Regions from separate parts of the Homo sapiens genome. Here region 1 is linked to region 2. Evidence: promoter capture Hi-C in 16 types of primary human blood cells and fetal thymus (Javierre and others, 2016). All regions are on one chromosome and are shown on one strand. Each heading gives the region's core, a stretch centred on a gene start or on the middle of the fragment in contact. The rest is flanking DNA. Distances are from core to core; before and after follow the strand shown.

Region 1 (6,637 bases), core at 2,263-4,762, 590 kb after region 2:
TCTTTCCGATTCTTCCTGAAGAACCCTGCACAGAGGAGACGGGGGACTGGGAGGGGCCTGGGTCTCCGAGTGTGGGCACGGGGAGCTGAGGTCTTGCAGCTCCTGGGTCTGGGGCGCCGGGGTTCTGTGAGAGCCCCAGCTTCGTCACGTACGACTTCCTCTCCTCTAATTGAGGGAATTGCAGAAGCCCCGGAGGGCGGCTGGTTCAGAGACCGAAACAAAGGCAGGATCAGGACCCTGGATCAGAATGGGGTCCACGCGTGAGTCTCTGTAATTAACGCTCTGGTGTCTCAAATTACGAGAAAATATATAAAACATGTAATTGCTTCTGTATTTTGGACACTCATTAGGAGAATAATAAATGTTATTATTTATTAATATGGTAATGAATCATCTCGCTTTTAAAATTAAACATTAAACCGCTAACAAATTAAATGTAAATTATTAGGCCCCGAGTTGATGGAAAGAGTTCCCCGGGGAGGGGCCGCTGGGCTCCTTCTTTGCAGAAATGAGTGCGTCGCCCTTTAACTAGGCGCGGAGGCTGCGAGCGGTGCGGGGTGACCTGAGGACACCCGAAGACACGGGCGACTCGCGGGGACATCCTGCCCCCTGCCGGCCGCGAGCGGGACCGCAGCGGCCCGCGGGTAGCGTCCCGCCGCGGAGGTGGTTTTTCCTTGTGATCTTTCCAGAAGCAGTGAAGCCCTCTTGGGCACCCGCGCCCCTCGCCTGGCAGACAGCCACCCGCTCGCGCACGAACTCGCTGCACAGAGCTGTCAGGAGTGGGGCGTGTGGCCTGGAGCGAGGCTGCTCGCGTAGGCTGGGCCTGGGCTCCTGGCCGTGTTGTCACCGCCAATCCCCACACACGCAAGAGAAAGCAGCTTCTAGCCTCATCTCACACACGGGAAAGTGAGGCTCAGAGATGTGTGGCCTGGCCGGGGTGCACAGCCAGTATCCGGTGGGCCTGGGATGCCAGCCCAGCCTGCCAGGCCCCAGGGTGGCCATCATGGAGTGGGACTCCCGGGCTGGCCCCCCAGAGCCTGTTCCAGGCACGTGCATTTGAATTAATGGGGTTACTGTTTCCTGAGGGCTCTTGCCAGACACCAGCTACTTACTGCACGTGGTTGAGCCCAATCAAGTAGGCAGTGTGCCCTGTGCCCATCTTACGCACGAGCAGACTGAGGCACGGAGAGGCTTCAGCGACTTGCCCAGGTCAGCAGCAAGGAAGTAGGGGCAGGAGAGAGAAGTAGGTCTTGCTGAGTCTAGAGTTAGCTCTTGACCACTCCAGGCCAGACTGGGTTCTCCCTCCTTCCAGGAGGAGGGCAGGCAGCCCCATCTGTGCCCATCCCTGCGGTGCACAAAACAGTGCAGCTTCCGGGCCACTGGCTGTGTTTCTAGGGATCACCTGAGTTAAAGCAAGAAAAGGAATCATTATTTTTTTAACCAATACATGATTTGGGGCTTAGAGGTTGTTTGCAGTCACTCTTATGAAGAATGCTACAGCAGACACCGTGGGTTCAAGGTTATTTCCTTGGGAAAGACTTCCAGAAGTCAAACTGCTGGAACCAAAGGCTGGGACAGCAGGATTTTGGCATGCATGTTATTAGGATCCTTCTCGTATATGTGTCCCAGCTTGCACTCATCTGGGGAGGGACTCAGAAAAGAGGGCCTCCTCCCCTCACAACCAATAGCACCCTTGAGATGGCCCAGGCTGGCAGGGTTGGAAAAGTCCAGCTCATCTATGGTCCAGTTCTCTGGTGGGCACTGACCCTTGAGCCAGCCACACCCACACCCACACCCACACCCATGCCTGTGGGGATCAGAGGTCAATAGATGCAGCCTCCAATGGTCTGAGGCTCCCTGACTTTCCTCCCGCCTTCTCTCCGTGTGTAATCCCAGCCCAGGGCCACCCTTTGGTGGCAAACACAGACACCCCTGTGTCAGCCATACGTATTCAGCCAAGGCTTTATGAGTACCTTCCACTTAGGAACCCTCACTTCTGTCTCTGCCTTCCCTTGCGATTATGAGTCCCAGCAATGGCAGCTGAGCACTCAGGATGCCCACTCCTGGCTCTGACTTTACGTCACTTTCTCAACACGTTACAGGTGAAGAGCCTGCCAAGTGGCCGAGCCACGATTTGGCCCCAGAGCCCAAGTTCTGTTCTTTCCTTGGGTCTCTGCTGTCTGCCCAGGCCTGAGCATGGTCCCTCAGACAGGCTCAGGAAGTATTTGTGGATGAATCAATGAACGACCCCGTGAGGGCCTTTGCCTTTCTCCCCTGCCAGGCTGGGAGCCCCCAGAAGACAAGTGGGGTTGACCATGTGCCTGGAAGGAGTCACGGCTCCTCTCTAGACCGGAACTCCCCACTAGAGCGATGGGGTGCCACAGGGTATCCCAGCAGGCCCGGCAAGCACATCACAGGAGCGTGGAGAAGCGGGACCAGCCGTGCCCCCATCCCTGGGAGCCCTGCCCCCAGCCTTGTCTAAGGCCTCACTTGCCCCATATCTGGTTTGGGGAGCAGGTTTCTCACCCCAATATGATTCTGTTCTCTGCCCCCTCTGCCCTCCTACCCCACACATCCCAGCGTGGATGGACGAGACTTCGCCCCTGCCTCCTGCCCGGGCCCCTGCCATGGGAAGGGGACGCATTATTGCTCTCTCTCAGGGCTATTCAGACACCAACTAATTTATTTCCCTCCTGCCCCCTTCCTTATTGATCAATGCTTTAGCTGAGTGGCTGTTAAATGACTTGTTCCCATAGCAACCATCAGATACATGCTCGGATCTGATGTGTCTGTTTCCTGAGCCAGATCGCCTCCTAAGAGCTTGGAGAGAACAAATCTCCTTTCATATCCGTCGCTGTCTTCTGAAAGGCACAGGATATTGTTCAGAACAAGTCATTTTTTAAAACAATATTAAAAAAAGAACTAGGTTTTTCAACAGATATAAAGTTGTTTCATAAGGTGCATCATTCTTAAGAAGTATTAAATCAGATTTTAAAAGCTTTGACCAAGTTAATCTTTCTTCTGCCTACTTTTCCTTCTGCACAGGGGGAAGTATGGAAACGGTCTCTGCATAAAGATACTCTGCTGCATCATTTATAAAAAGAAAAATTGAAAACAGCCTAAAAGCACAATAGACGATTCAAATGATCTATGGTTCACATACCTGTGAGGGTTTTATAGAGATGCTGAAACGCTGCTTAGAAGAGAGAAACACACATGTCAACAACGTGAAGTGAAAAAAAAGAAACAAGATTAAAAACTGTGTCTGCACGGGTGAGCATAATGAATGGAAAACAAAGCTAAATTATGTAGAGGAAAAAATACTCAGGAAAACAAACACAGTGAAATGTTGACAGAAGTGTTTCTTGTTGGCAGAGCCATGGGATTTTCTTCCTTATTCACTTACTTAATACATATTTATTGAGCACCTACTACGAGCCCAGCCCTGTCTGAGGCATTAACAGCACAACTGCTATTTCTACTGCCTATATTTTCCCAAATGTGTTTAAAACTGTTTTAAAACTATGTATTTTTTTCTTATTTTTGTTTGTTTGTTTGTTTGTTCTGAGACAGGCTCAAGTGATCCTCCCACCTCAGCCTCCCCAGTAGCTGGGACTACAGGCGTGCACTACTACACCCCACTAATTTTTGTATTTTTTGTAGAAACAGGGTCTCGTTGTGCTGCCCAAGCTAGCCTCGAGCTCCGGGCCTCAAGCAATCCACCCACCTCAGCTTCCCAAGCTCTGGGATTACAGGTGTGAGCCACCGTGCCCAGCCAAGTATAATTTTTTTTAATGACAGGGTACATGTTTCACCTGCCACGTTGCCAACAAATAAACATAAGACGCTCTGTTGGTGAGGAGAGGATATAGGAACACCAGCCCCGCCTGGCAGAAGAATGAATGACCACGACCAATAAAGGACCAGTTATCAACACTTAAAACCGACATACTTTTTCCCAGCAATTCCACCTGTAGTCATTGTCCCTACTGGGATTCTCTCCCACCTTTGTCGTGGGATGTTTACGAAGCTTGTTTACCGTGGCATGTGACTGCTGGAACCCCGAATGGTCCTCGCCAGGGGATGGCTACCCAGATCGTGGTTCAGACTCAGGAAAACACTGAGCCCTGAGAAGAACGAGGCGATCTGCCAGTGTGTGGAACACTAAGCTGAGGTCCCTAAGGGACAGAGCAAGGCGGATCACTTGAGATCAGGAATTCGAGACCAGCCTGGCCAACATGGTGAAACCCTGTCTCTACTAAACATACAAAAATTAGCCGGGCGTGGTGGCGGGCACCTGTAATCCCAGCTCCTTGGGAGGCTGAAGCAGGAGAATCCCTTGAACCTGGGAGGTGGAGGTTGCAGTGAGCCGAGATCATGCCCAAGATCTCTGCTCTTCCCCCGTCTTGCCTTAGTGATCCTGGGCATGTCCCTTCACCTCTGCGGCCTCAGTTTCTCATCTGCACAGTGAAGATGCTGATGCCCGCCTGGCTGATGCCCGCCTGGCTGCTTCCTGGACAGATTTCCCAGGATGTGCTGTGTGACAGGCCTTCCACACAGGCCCTCAGGCACCTTTTCTTCTTCCTGAGATGGAAACAACAAAAAAGTTGGTGCATGGTCACCAGCGATCCCCAAACTACGACCTCTGCCCTCTTTTCCTGCAGACCCCTCAAAAATCACGAAAGGGGCCCTTGCAATAGGGGGTCTCTATGGACTCAAACAAAGGGCTTTCCCTGGGAGGGGCTGCCGGCCTTTGCCTATAACATGCGTGATGTAGTTTTTAAGACTAGCAAAAGCCCAGCCTGGCATTATCTAGCATTGAGGTACAGCGTCTCACGGAAAGTTCTTTTTTATTCCCCAGGCTGTCCCCTTCTCCTCCATTCCCGGATAAGCCTTCACTCACCTCTGCACCTCACCAGCATCCACTCAGAGAGACCCAGCCCCTCAAACCCAGCCAGCAGGGACCACGCTGCACATTAAGTTTGCTCAACTGCTCCAGGTTATTTGAAAACTTATGAAACCTTTTTCTTAAAAAAATCAAAGTCCCATTGTGAGAGGGAATCCAGTACTTTCTTAAAAGTACTAACTCAGCAGCTGCAGGAATCTTCCTGACCTAAAGAAAGAGGAAGGAGAAAAAACACAATCACCCCTGGCTTCTGACACGCATACTCCTGGCTGGATTCTAGATTAGAACAAAGGGGACATAGGTCACGGAGCCATTTCTGTGCCTAGACACCACCTTTGATTTTGCAGGGTGGCGCACCAGGGCTTAGCCACAAGGGGGTCGTGATTCAGTGGGTATGAACTCCAGTGGGGGAGTGCGGGGAGAGACAGCAGGCCAGTGGTCCTTCGGGGAAGATGCGGGAGGGGGTTCTTTTTTAATTTTTCTGGTCTGTTCCACATAACTGAATGCCAGGGACCCAACCTGGATGGGTAGGGGGTGCCAGGTGCAGACCTGACTCTGCACTAGGAAGGAATGCTTGTCACCACCGGCAGGCATGTGTGCTTCTCAGCCCGTCCCAGAGGACAATCCCGAACCACTGATCCAAAGCCTTAAAACCCTGCAGAACTTTTGACCCAGGCCCCACTGCTAGGAATGAATAACATAGTAAAGATAGGTGGGACGATTGAGCTACCAGCGTGTTTATGACTACCACGTTTTCAGCAGGTGAAGTGCAAAGTGCCTAATGTTCACAAGAGGGGCTGAGTTGAGCAAAAGCAAATTTCAGTTCAGCCATACCCTAAAATATGAATACAAATATTGCCGTGGCTAATACCATGAAAACTTGGTCTCATCAAACCGTCTAGCAGATTACAAGCACTCTGGACAGTATGTTACTATGCAGAGACATAGGAAAATGTCTACGAAGAAATACACCAAAATGTTAATGACAGTCATCTCTGAGTGACTTCTCTTTGTTAATATCTCTGCATGTTCTGATGTTTCCCACAATAAACTGATGTATCTTTTGTTGATTTCAGAGCGTGGCCTTGAGGATGTTCCTTCACCTCTCTGAGCTTCAGGCTCCTCACCTGTACAATGAAGACAGCACCTGCCTCATGGATTTGCTAATATATGCAAAATGCATAGCTTGCTGCCTGGAAGATAATAAGTACCCAAATGTTAGCTGTTTTTATTTTTCGCTCAATTTTCTACATATAAACATGTCATTGTGCTCCGTGCTGGGGATATGGCAGTGACAGCTAAACTCCAGAAGAGAAAGATTAAACCAACACTCACAGACGATTAATCCGCTGCCGTGAGGACCAATGATGTATTCATTACAGTTAGGGATGCTGTGGTGGGGGGCACGTTGAGAGCATTTATCAGGGGAACTTTGTTGAGAGTTTTGATCATTATCTTAAGAGCAACAGGAAGCCTGACATTGAAGGCTTCAAGCAGAGCTGTGAAATCAGAAGTTCATGGTTTAAGAACTCACCATATCCACACCGTGGACTGAGAGGGGCCCCAGGGAGGTGCCTTCCCAGGAGGCTGCTGTGGGGGTGCGAACCACGGAGGAAGTGCTGCCACGGCAGATGGGGCGAAGTGGACAGACCCCAGCCCCTTCAGGAGGTGCAGTTTGCAAAATCTGGACACAGTGATGCCTCGGAGGGGCTTGTGGCGGGATGGTCGGGT
Region 2 (6,210 bases), core at 2,344-4,843:
TGACCTGGTTCTCTGACCCTCCTCATCTCATGCTTCCTTCCAAGAACTTTCTGGAAGAGATGCTGGCTTTGGAGATGATATAGGGTTTTCTCTTCAGACCACCTGTTCTGCCTAGCAAAAAGGGCCTACCTTGGCCGGGCACGGTGGCTCACGCTTGTAACCCCAGCCCTTTGGGAGGCTGAGACGGTGGATGGCTTAAGCCCAGGAGTTCGAAACTAGCGTGGGCAACTTGGCGAAACCCCATCTCTGCAAAAAATACAAAAATTAGCTGGGTGTCATGGTGTGCGCCTGTGGTCCCAGTACTTAGGAGGTTGAGGCTGGAGGATCACTTGAGCCCGGGAGTTGGGAGGTTGTAGTGAGCCAAGATTGTGCCACTGCACTTCAGCCTGGCTGACAGAGACCCCTGTCTCAACACAATAGGTTAAAAAAAAAAGAAAAGAACAAAGGGCCTCCCTTGATGGGCCCTACTTATCACAAAGCATCCATGGGCTGCTACTCCGGCAGGTCTGCCCAGCATGATGCCAGCCTCTGAGAAGAGGTCTCGTGGTCAGTGCATCTCCCAGATACATGAAAGAATGACCGTCAGCAAAGTCAATGTCTAATGTAGATGTGGGTCATCTGGTCTACCCACTCTCCATACCTAGCCCATCCTTGGAGTGACTTTTGGACCTCACTGTCCACTTGAGGGAAGGCCAGTCCACAGGAAGGAGGCCCCAGAGCACCCAGTGTGGCTACAGGACTTGCTGCTGGGACCTCTAAGCCCCACTGCTCTCTTAGTCCATTGGTGTCCTTTAGGGATTCTTGCCAATGGAAAGACCCTTGGATTCCTGGTGTTAGCATGTGTTTATTCAGAGAGAGTTGGCCCATGAGAATCTCATTTTCCTTTGACGAATCTTGCCCTAGATGAATACTTCTGAGTAACAACTAACTGCTCAGATGGCTTTCTGAATACAATGCCAAATTCAGGAGAAGGGACACTTGTCATAGTGCTGCTTTGTGATTTGCAAACGGAGTGCGTTGGATTTCTGTTTCTCTTTTTTCTTTAATGATGCATGTGACTGCATCTTCTAACCTCCCTTAGCCAGTGTTCACCAGGAGGGCTTCCTGGAGGCAGTGGCTTTGGGCAGAGGCAGAGGTTCTTCTCCCAGGGTGTTTTTGCAGGCCCTAAAGGGATTTCAGCCATTTTACATTTACATTATTTCAAATGGTACAGGATTGCCTGTCTTTTGGTAACCAATCCTGTCGTGAAGAGATGCTGGGAAGTAAAGTCAACTGTATGGCAGGCCCCAGCTCCAGGGCCAGCCAGATGAGGCTTGTCACCTGGCCCCTCCCCCTTGGTCTCAGGCCTCGCAGGAGGAGATGTCCACTCCGGCGAAGACCCGGCATAGTCCTCACCTGCTCTTTGAGCCACTCTTTGGTACTTGAAGAGAGGATACCCTTTGTATGTTCACTTGATTAATGGCGAATATACAGGGGGAGACTCTTATTTGCGTATCAAACTCTGTCGAGGAAGACGCTCAGACCCTGCTGTCTCCAGGACAAAGCCTCGGATGTCAGCCCCTCTCAGGTACGGCTTGGCTTCCCTGTCTGGGAACGTGAGCTTGGCTGTGATCCTAGCCCTTGGGTTCTGCCTTCGCTCTCTGTGCTGGTTCTTCCTGTGGACTCCCTGGAGGCAGTGGGAGAGGAGGGTCCTTTTTGTGTGCACTGAGTTTAATGGTGGTTTGCTTTTTTTAAGGATAAATCACATGGATCTGCCTCTTCTCCATACCAAGTCATACCCAGAGGGCTTCCTGCGTCCAGCACTAACCTCGCACCTCTCCGGACACACGAATGGGTGGTGGATGGTGGAGCGCAGAGCTGATGCTGCTTCTCACCTGCTACTCCCCTGACCTGCCACTCCCTGGTGGTCTCCATCCTTGAGAGAGTGTCAGCCTTGAGGGAAGCACATGGATGTCAGGTTGTTCTAAGGCAAGTTACTGGTGGAGCTCCCTGAGCCTGCCTGTGCCCTCTGGGACTGTCGCTGGACTCCAATGGCCAGTCCTCGGAGCACATTGTCCAGTGATTGCACCTGAGTGTGCCTTGGGCAGGTGTGTCTGGTCTTCAGGACTCCTTTGTCGCTAGAGTCTGACGCTGGGGCCCTCTTTTTGTTTGTTTCGAGGTAGGTACAGGTGACACATTCTTGGATCTGGTCATCTCTAGGACAACCAGCCTCAGAGGAGAGACATTGTCTCAGCGCTCTCCAGCTCTGAGAATGCCTGCAGATGCCTTCTTCTCTGATAACTCCATGTCTTGCCGGGCTGAGCCCTCACACCCTGTGCCCCTTTGGAGAAAGGTGATGGTTCCATTGTCCATGTAGCTTGTGGGTATTTGAAGCAGGTTCACCCATGCATGCTGAGCACACTGATAGTCATGCCTACCTGTTCCCTTGTTTAGAAGCCAGTCTCGCCTGCAGGGAGTCCTGGATGTGCCACCTTTCGGGGCCAGGCCACAATGTGCAAGGTGCAGGCCCAGCTCCAGGGTCAGCCAGATGAGGCTTGTCACCGGGCCCCTCCCCCTTGGTCTCAGGCCTCGCAGGAGGAGATGTCCACTCCGGCAAAGACCCGGCATGGTCCTCACCTGCTCTTTGAGCCACCCTTTGGTACTTAAAGAGAGGATACCCTTTGTATGTTCACTTGATTAATGGCGAATATACAGGGGGAGACTCTCATTTGCGTATCAAACTGTCGGAGAAGACACTCATACCCTGCTTGTCTCCAGGACAAAGCCTCGGATGTCAGCCCCTCTCAGGTATGGCCTGGCTTCCATGTCCGGGAACGTGAGGTTGGCTGTGACGCTGCCCCTGGGTTCTGCCTTCGCCCTCTATGCTGGTTCTTCCTGTGGACTCCCTGGAAGCAGTGGGAGAGGAGGGACCTTTTTGTGTGCTCCAAGTTTAATGGTGGTTTGCTTTTTTAAGGATAAATCACACATTGATCTGCCTCTTCTTGGTACCAAGTCATACACAGAAGGCTTCCTGTTCCCAGCATCAGCCTTAGAAGGGGGACCTGGATGTTGGATCATTTCAAGGGGAACACAGACAGCAGTGATGGTGGACCACGGAGCACTGGCTCTGTCTATGCTGTTTTCGAGCCTGGTAGGCCAGCCCCAGGAGGGCTTCCTGGAGGTGGTATTGACCTTGGGGAAGGGGCTGAGGTGTGCTCATCAGCGCTTTTTTTTTTTGATGCTTGGGTGTTCATGATCCAGCTCGCAGTCCCCAGGCTGAATCTGTAAGAATGGTTTGCTTCTATTTGTCATTTGTGATTGCCCATGAAGGCAGCGCTGGGGATGAGCCGTGGGAGCTGTCAGCCCCGCACCAGGTGCGTGCATGTGGGAGGTCAGAGGGCGCCTGCTTCTGCCTCGATGTCTGTGCCCCGTCTCTGACTGCTGGCTTTCTGCTCACACCTAGGATGGCTGCCTGAGAATGGGACTCTTGTTCTGTGTTTGTGGAGACACTCCTTGGGCCGTGTGACTGCCGGCTTTTTACACCCCGACTGCCATGGGGGTCATCTGGACCCGAAGCCAGCTTCAGGAAGGACATTCGCAGCATCCTCAGCCCAAGGAAAGCGAACGTCCAGCTGAAGAGAGGTGAGCACCACGCCTGGGTAATGAGTCACATAACCTGCCACCTGGACCAGGCGGCTCCCGCTCCTCTCCCCTTCTTGAAGGAGAGACCACTGTGGGGAATGGGCTGTGGGTCTGCTTCCTCAGTTACTTGGGGGTACGTGGGGTTTACTACTGTTGACCCTGTGCTCTTTCTTAGCATGGCTTCATGGCCACGATGCCAGCCTCTGGCAGGGGTGGGGCAAGGGCTGGCATGGAGAATGACACTGGTGTCAACGGCTCTGTGAGATGGATGAAGGGATGGTGACCACAGGGCCTTTGCTTTGTCTAAGGTGTAAATTCATCCAGTGCCTGGGACCTCGGTGCTGAGTGCATCCTTAGGAAAACTTCCTGGAGAGGTGCCCACACTGGGAAGGAGATGGTGGTCCCACCCCAGGGAATTCCTATAGAAAGTGAGAAGCTGAGCTCTGCGTGTGCCCAGGAAGGCCCGTGGGGTGGATCTCCTTTTCAGGAACAAGTTCTAATCTGGAGTGATGCCTGGAAAAGAGGCTGATTCTGGTGAAGGGGCACTGGCGTCTGCCCCTTCCTGGCCCCTTTGGGATGGAGAGCTGACCTATGGGCACACAGCTGGCAGGTGGTGTTTGCCACCTGGTCTGCTGATCCCGCATCTCCCACCCCCTCCCCCGCCAGGATGAACCCCGGGAGAGGAGGCCGGCCCCGTGAATGATAGTGAGGAACCTGCCCAGTGCTATTGTTTGGTACTTAAAGCGAGGTTGCCCTTTGTATATTCGGTTTATTGACATGGAATATACAAGGGCAAGCTCTCTGTGAGTATCAAACCTTGTCTTGGACCCAGTCCACACTCAGCAAGGGATGCGGTATGTGTGTGCATGACCGTGTGTATCCGTTTTGTGTGTGGCAAATCGTTCACGGGTCCCCACTTCACAGAGAGGACTTCACGGGCACCTGGATGACTTTAGGGAAGGCAGTGGCCTCTGGGACATCCCCTCTCCTGGTGCAGTGTGGGCGGGGCCAAAAGCATGCACGATGTGTGTGGTCTGGGTCCCTGCTTCCTGAGCGGGAAGTCATCAGCCCGGGCCGATGGCTGGGGTGGCGCTCGTGTGGGGTAGTGGCTTTGTGGTCCCTGCTGTTACTCGGTCCGTGAGTGTGCATGTTCTGCTTGGGGTATGTGACCCGGTCCACTAACCCTCAGCATCTAATTCATCCCCAGGACCGCGCCTTGAAGACGTACCAAGTCCACCCAAGGCAGTGGCTTTCTTTTCCGTGCTAACCTTTGGTACTTGGAGAGTGGTTATCCCTGTCCTGTTCGTTTTGCTCATGTCGAATCGTACAGGGTCATCCACTTTTTCAGTATCAAGAGCGCAGACTCTGGAGCTCGATTTCCTGTGTTTGGATCCCACCTCTGACATTTACTAACCGTCCAACCTTGGGCAAGGATCTCATCGTGCTGTGCCCATTGTCTCACATGTCAAAGGGGAATCACATTGGCGTCCATTTCTTGGGGCTGCTGGGGCTGAACGAGTTAAGACTTGTACACGGCTCAGAGCAGAGCCCCGTGGTCGGCACTTCGTAGGTGGTAGCCAGGACCCTTGTGTGCTGTGAAACTATCATTGGTGGTGGTGGTGGTGGTGGTGGTGGTGGTTTTATGACTAAAATCTCTCCATGGGTTTTTGGAACAGTGTCAAAACATGGAAGTCAAGTCCTTCATCGGGTATGGAATGGACTAGGAAGCCCAGAGCATACACGGTGTTTACAATGGGGGCTAGTGATGCTCTTGATGCTTGGCAGCTAAGCCATTCACACAGTGGCTTTTGATACAGAATGCCACATGCAGTGGGGGTCAGCAGGGGTGCCGAGAACATTTGCTCCACTTAAGAGAGACAGTCCCTGGGTTCTTGACCTCGGCCACTATCTACGCTTTGAAGGAGTCTTGAGCGAGGATGCCAAGCTGAGTGAGGATTCTATGGCATCTTGCTTCCCTGGTGCTTAAAGAGAGGTCAAACTTGGTGCATGCATTGTGCATGCCTGTGTGTGCGTGGTGTGTGTGCATGAGCGAGTGTGTGACTGGGTTTGCCACGAAGCAGTCACCATCTAACCTTGAGCCAAAGACCTGGAGGTGGTGGTCCGTGCTGCTGTTTCATACTTGAGGAGAAATTATCCTTGGTGTGTTCGCTTTATTTATGATGAATCATACAAGGACAATTTCTTTTTGAGTATCAAATCTTGCCTCGGCAGACTTCCTGGACGCCATGACAAGTTCTGTAAAGGGATGCACGCATCAGCCCTTCCCAGGGGCTCACGCCTGGGTGGGGATGAGGGCGCATGCAGTTGGTTTGTGGTGGGGACACTTGTGCCCTAACCTCAGAACCCTGGAGGCGGGGCCACGCTTGGCAGGGGGCCACGGGACTCCTTGGTGCTATCAGGGATTTGCATTGGCCATGGGTGTGTGTTGTGGGTGACGCAGCATTCAAGCTACTTATCAAATCCTGCTTCTTGGAGGCACTTCTTGGACATGAAGCAAACCTTAGGGACCGATCATTGGGGCCAGACCCCCTTCCCCTGCCCAAGAGTGTGACTGACCCCCAGGCATGG

What was found. Contacts are between HindIII fragments. The CHiCAGO score rates a contact against its expected background, and 5 or more counts as called.
Region 1: a contact is called between a fragment that was not itself captured here and the fragment with the promoter of MIR381HG in region 2, in 4 of 17 cell types (total CD8 T cells, megakaryocytes, erythroblasts and 1 more). The highest score is 6.4, in total CD8 T cells.

Annotation. Positions count from the first base shown.
Region 1 is chr14:101,628,003-101,634,639 of GRCh38, forward strand. LINC02320 (long intergenic non-protein coding RNA 2320) reads right to left here. Exons shown (of 6, transcript NR_184269.1): 3 at 6,441-6,637; 4 at 4,904-5,113; 5 at 4,411-4,584; 6 at 347-1,402. Among named protein-coding and RNA genes, the nearest start is that of DIO3, 70 kb to the left of the region's middle. The HindIII fragment of the contact is 1,032 bases long and covers 2,997-4,028 here.
Region 2 is chr14:101,041,564-101,047,773 of GRCh38, forward strand. MIR381HG (MIR381 host gene) reads left to right here and starts at 3,594. Exons shown (of 3, transcript NR_104192.1): 1 at 3,594-3,621. It overlaps MIR1185-2 (microRNA 1185-2), which reads left to right and starts at 2,635; the gene lies at 2,635-2,720. It overlaps MIR381 (microRNA 381), which reads left to right and starts at 4,357; the gene lies at 4,357-4,431. MIR1185-1 (microRNA 1185-1) reads left to right here and starts at 1,414; the gene lies at 1,414-1,499. It also overlaps MIR487B and MIR539. RefSeq lists enhancers at 4,202-4,702, 4,703-5,203. The HindIII fragment of the contact is 10,476 bases long and covers 1-6,210 here.